Linked DNA regions of Homo sapiens: region 2 is linked to region 1. The links are contacts of gene promoters, found by promoter capture Hi-C in human tissues and cell types (Jung and others, 2019). All regions are on one chromosome and are shown on one strand. The core of a region is centred on a gene start or on the middle of the fragment in contact, and the rest is flanking DNA. Distances in the headings are between cores, read along the strand shown.

Evidence for each region. Contacts are between HindIII fragments. The study calls those that stand out against the background at their distance.
Region 2: a contact is called between a fragment that was not itself captured here and the fragment with the promoter of PRDM6 in region 1, in 3 of the 25 tissues and cell types used here (aorta, ovary and pancreas).

The regions. Positions count from the first base shown.
Region 1 is chr5:123,087,948-123,090,647 of GRCh38, forward strand. PRDM6 (PR/SET domain 6) reads left to right here and starts at 1,294. Exons shown (of 8, transcript NM_001136239.4): 1 at 1,294-1,572; 2 at 2,053-2,659. The coding sequence starts at 2,068. It overlaps PRDM6-AS1 (PRDM6 antisense RNA 1), which reads right to left and starts at 2,369. Exons shown (of 2, transcript NR_146771.1): 1 at 2,125-2,369. RefSeq lists enhancers at 1-488, 489-1,033. The HindIII fragment of the contact is 7,641 bases long and covers 1-2,700 here.
Region 2 is chr5:123,132,076-123,134,775 of GRCh38, forward strand. The region is part of intron 3 of PRDM6 (PR/SET domain 6); the gene reads left to right. Among named protein-coding and RNA genes, the nearest start is that of PRDM6-AS1, 43 kb to the left of the region's middle. The HindIII fragment of the contact is 9,966 bases long and covers 1-2,700 here.

The DNA.
Region 1 (2,700 bases), core at 44-2,543:
GTGGGAAGAGAAAAAGAAACAAGCAGAAATCAGGAAAGAATGGCTATTAATTGCTCAGATTGGCAAGTGCTAAATAAGTTAGGTTGTTTGGAAAAAGATAAATGCCGTTTCTTCTCTTTACGGTATGGCCAGAACCCCGGCGATGGGAAAGTACCTCCTGAGTCGGTCAATTTCACACACCCTGCCTGTGCCCTCTACCATCTACTACCGAAAATGCCAGGAAGAGCTGGGGGGCAAGTGCCTCCTTCGTGGGTGCGAGACTGCATCGAAGGGCTGCCCTGGCACAAAGTCTGGGGAGAGGACATGGTGGAGGTGGGGCTGCACTCCCACCCTGCCCCTCTAACACCAGGTTTTGGGTAGAGAAACCTATGCGTGACCTCCTGCGGCAGCCGCAGGCAGCTGACCGCAAACAGCCTCGCCCGTGTCCCGGAGCAGTTGTGCCACCAGACGTAACACTGGATACTTGTCTCCGGGCCCCAAGAAGGAGAGGGAAAGAGCCCTCCAGAAGACAACCCGAGAAGGGGTCAGCAGAGCGCTGGGTGGAGTGCAGACTCCATTGCAGCCGCCTCCCAGCCCCACGGCCAAGCTTGAGTCCCTCCAGGACCAGCTGCTCTCGGTCTCAGGACCCTCGGTCCTACGCCTCCCTGCACCGACAAGCCTCCCTCCTGGGCTGCAGACAGAGGGTTTCACTGCAGCGCGCAACCCGTCCCGCTCCGCCCCCAACTTTTCTCCCCGGAGGATTTATGTTAGAGGTTGCGTGGCGGGCGAGTGGACTCTGGCACCCAGAAGCACTTCAGGAAAAACTGAGCCGGGCAAAAGCGCAAACCCGGTCCTGGCGGCGCGGGCTTGCTCCAGCGCGGACACCACAGCGTGTGCGGAGATGCATTCCCGTTGCCGCATTTCCACTGCTTTCAAGATCAGGGCACTGAGCTGGGACCCAGAAAAGACATATCATGGGCAGAAAGAGACAACAGGCTAGCGGCAGACGTCACGCCAAAAAAACAGGGGATGGGAGGGCGGAGGAGTTTGTGCGGGAAAGGCGCTCTGGCGATGTGGGTCGGGCCGAATTAGAACTTCCTTCTTCCCTCTCCCCTCCCCTTCTTCTGGCCTGCCTCCCCTCCCCCCTCCGTTCTCTCTCTCTCTCTCTCTCTCTCTCTCTCTCTCTCTCTCTCTCTCTCTCACACACACACACACACACACACACACACACACACACACACACACACACACACACACACACACACTCACTCTATTTTGTGCTGTCGTAAAACCCACGTGTCCAGCCGGGAAGCTGCCAGAGCGTGGAACCAAGGAGCCAGGACGCGGCAGCGGCCAAGCGCAGCAGCCCACGGCGGTTGAGTCGGGCGCCCAGGTCCGTCCGCACTCTCGCGCCCTCCGCGGGCCTCCCAATTTTCTCGCTTGCAGGTCGGGAGGTTTCCGGGCGGCACAATCTCTAGGACTCTCCTCCCGCGCTGCTCAGGGGCATGTAGCGCACGCAGGGCGCACACTCTCGCGCACCCGCACGCTCACCGAGACACCCGCACGCACCCACCGGCAGCACCGAGTTTTCAGGTAAGGTGAGGCTGGTCTGGGACTTAAGAGTCTAGGGCTTGGTAGATAGGAAGGTTGGTGGTCCTAGGTTGGGGGCGGGCGGCGAGACTGTTCTGCCTCCTGGCGCCTGAGGCCAACGCGGCTCGGGCGCTGCGCCACGCCGGCTCGGGTCGGCTCCGGGCGCTGGCTGAGGGCGGGGGCTGCGTCCTGCAGCCGAGTTCTACGGGGCAGCGCCCTCCTGTCGGGCCCCAGCATTGCTGGATGGGAGCTGGACGCTGCGATCGGGGAGGCAGAGCAGGGTGCACACAGCTCCCTCTGTGCGGCGCCGCAGCTTCGGAGTAAACTTTGCGCCCAAGCGGAGTTGGGAAGAGGGAGCCGCGGAACCGGGCGGCCGCCGGCTGAACCACCGGCTCGGGCACTTTCTCCAGGGTCCCAGTGGCCCTCTTCCCGGCCCCTTTCGCCCAGCTCACGCGCCCCCTCTTCCCTGCCCTCTGCCCCCAGTTCGAGGCGCCGGACATGCTGAAGCCCGGAGACCCCGGCGGTTCGGCCTTCCTCAAAGTGGACCCAGCCTACCTGCAGCACTGGCAGCAACTCTTCCCTCACGGAGGCGCAGGCCCGCTCAAGGGCAGCGGCGCCGCGGGTCTCCTGAGCGCGCCGCAGCCTCTTCAGCCGCCGCCGCCGCCCCCGCCCCCGGAGCGCGCTGAGCCTCCGCCGGACAGCCTGCGCCCGCGGCCCGCCTCTCTCTCCTCCGCCTCGTCCACGCCGGCTTCCTCTTCCACCTCCGCCTCCTCCGCCTCCTCCTGCGCTGCTGCGGCCGCTGCCGCCGCGCTGGCTGGTCTCTCGGCCCTGCCGGTGTCGCAGCTGCCGGTGTTCGCGCCTCTAGCCGCCGCTGCCGTCGCCGCCGAGCCGCTGCCCCCCAAGGAACTGTGCCTCGGCGCCACCTCCGGCCCCGGGCCCGTCAAGTGCGGTGGTGGTGGCGGCGGCGGCGGGGAGGGTCGCGGCGCCCCGCGCTTCCGCTGCAGCGCAGAGGAGCTGGACTATTACCTGTATGGCCAGCAGCGCATGGAGATCATCCCGCTCAACCAGCACACCAGCGACCCCAACAACCGTACGTAGCCGCAGCCCGCGCGCTCTCTCCCGGGGCGCCGG
Region 2 (2,700 bases), core at 42-2,541, 44 kb after region 1:
CATTATTATTTCCAACCTAGACATATCCCCTTCTGACGTATGTGCCCTTTTCATAACAGCTATCCTACTTTATGTCATACTTAAAAATTTTTATGTAGAGAGTTCCAAACTTCCTTTGTCTATTACTTGAGCCAAACTTCTATATTGTAGTATTTTCAGTGCTAAGAATCCCATGCATTACCACGTGGGGTGTATAAATGTAGAGAAACATCTTAGGCCTTTCAAAATTAGAATTATTCCTAGTTGTAATTAAATTAAAGTTATCAATTTTCACATAAGTAGGATAAACAAATTCCTCTGTTGAAGTAACAGCAAGTTATGTGGGTGGTTGTGTGTGTGTGTGTGTTTCCTCTTTCTAACTTATCAAAGAGAAGTTTTGAAATCTTGGATTTTCTATAAGCGCTTTCTAATGGGTTTCCTTGTTTAGTTTTTCACAAGAGCAGGTATATCATCCCCATATCTCTGGTGAAGCACTCTCCAAGTGTGTTGACATTTCAGGAAGTCTTGAATGTTGCTAAATGCATCTGTGTTTTCTGCTGAGTGGTTGGCCCAGACTCAAAAAAGTGTGCCTACACAAGATAATTTCCAAGTATGATTTCTAACATCATAGAATTGTAGTTGTGCACACATATGTGTATATGCAGGTCAATATCGCTTAGAAGCACCTTCCTTTTTTATTAACATCATTGTTTTGGAAGTTTTTAGTTCATTTAAATTAAAAATTATTGTTTTAATTATTTAAAAAATTATGTCCCAGATATATTAGCTTTTTGATGTTTTTTCCTATTTTGCCAGGATGTAGAAATTATATCTTTACAGTTGTTGAAATTTGATTAACTCTTACATGTTATCTTTAACAAATATTATCATGAAGACTATTCTCTGACAAAAAGTATATTTTGTCCATTTAATTCTCCTAGCTTGCAAAATGTACAGTATTCTAATAGTTATCTCCCTAGTAAAGGCTATGTCAGGAGAGAGGGCACCTTGATATTGATAACACATTTTGTTTTGGAAAGAAGATATAAAGTCAGTGACATACAGTGTGAGAGGCCTGTGAATATGAAAGTAAAAAGGAAATAATTACTTGATTGCAGACATACTGTTAGTTATCTCTGTCATAATCTCCTTTTCCATTTAAAAGAAAGTATTCTTACTATTATAGGTAATGCATTTTGCCAAGCAAAGGGGATAGAAGCAGGAATCTTATATAAATCCTTCCTATGCAAACACGTATGTTTTTCCTACAACTGAAAGAAATAACTACCTTTGATAGTACTAGTAATCTTTTCCTTTTGGAATTGAGTTAGTGAAAGCTTCCATCATAGGAAGGAAGAAAACTTCTAGTAGCTTATTACACATTCCTGAAAAAAAAGACAAAAGAGCAAAACACAACCTAAATATCCTTTTTTATTAAAAGTCAGAATTAGCATTGCAAATACAATCCAGAACTTCAGAGCTGTCACTTAGCATGAACCTTTTGATAAATTGGATCCTGATATTTACAAAATCTATTAAAATACAACCAATAGTGTGTTTGTTTATATGTTGACAAGATGATATACACCCTGAAGGTCAAGGGTGATGTGAACTGTTATGGTGTTCTTGTCAAAGTAGCTGAAAAAAGTGGGGTGGTGGCTATTTAAAGAGTTTTGATGGAATAATGGCTTTACCACAAGTGTGACAGCAAATGCAAGGATCATCTTGAAAAAGTTCAGTTGATTTGAAACAAAAATCTGTGATGTTTATCAATCAAAAAAAAAAAAAGGAAAGTCTCTTCTTCCTTCTGTAGCATGTTAGAAAGTTGGCAGCTCAAATGGAAAAACAAATAGTGAAGTTAAACAGAAAGAAAAGCATTGATTTAACTTCTTGGGTGGTTTATCAAATGCCACACGAACTTTTCATTCTGTCTTGTCATTTATTAATTACCCTCTTTTAATCAAGCCAGTTAAAGATCAGTTTACAAACTTTTGGGTTACTTCTGTGTAAATAGTTCCAACAACTCAAAGTCACTTTGTCCTTTTACTAAATAATCTTCTCTAATTGTTAGCCAAGTTGTACTTCTTTTTCTCTCATAAAAACTCGAAATTTATCTGAAAAATAAATGTGGGATTTAAATAATGCTTTTCCCAGCATGATTTTATTACTACATTTGAGTTCCTTGTTCTCTTTTTCTTAACAATGGTAACGGCCTTAGTTATTAGAGATGTTAGCTCAAAAATGTAACACCGAAAAGAATGTGAATGCATTAAAGGTCTGTTAAGTTTTTCAGTATAGATCTTTATTTTAGTGTTTCAAACTAGCATCTAGAAAAAAACTGAGTAAAAACTGTATATGTTAATTTCAAAGTAATAAGTTTATTTTAATGAAAGGAATTGGTACAGTATGTTAACCAAATATGAATTGATATAAGAAGATAGATTTGGATGTTAGATCCCCCCATCTATTTAGAAAACATTTAAATTGTTATGTATTTTAAATTATAGCACACACAGAAAGCTAATTTTATGGGCATTTTTTAATTTAATCTTAAAAGGAACTGAGCTTTTTAATGTGTCTGTCATAAAATGGTTTAATTAAATGAAATTAAGCCAGAATAACTGTAAACAGACATAAAAATTATTAACCTCATATCTCTACCAATCATTTTCAATATAGGATTTCTGCTAAACAGTGTGTGGTTTAGCTCCCAGGAATTAA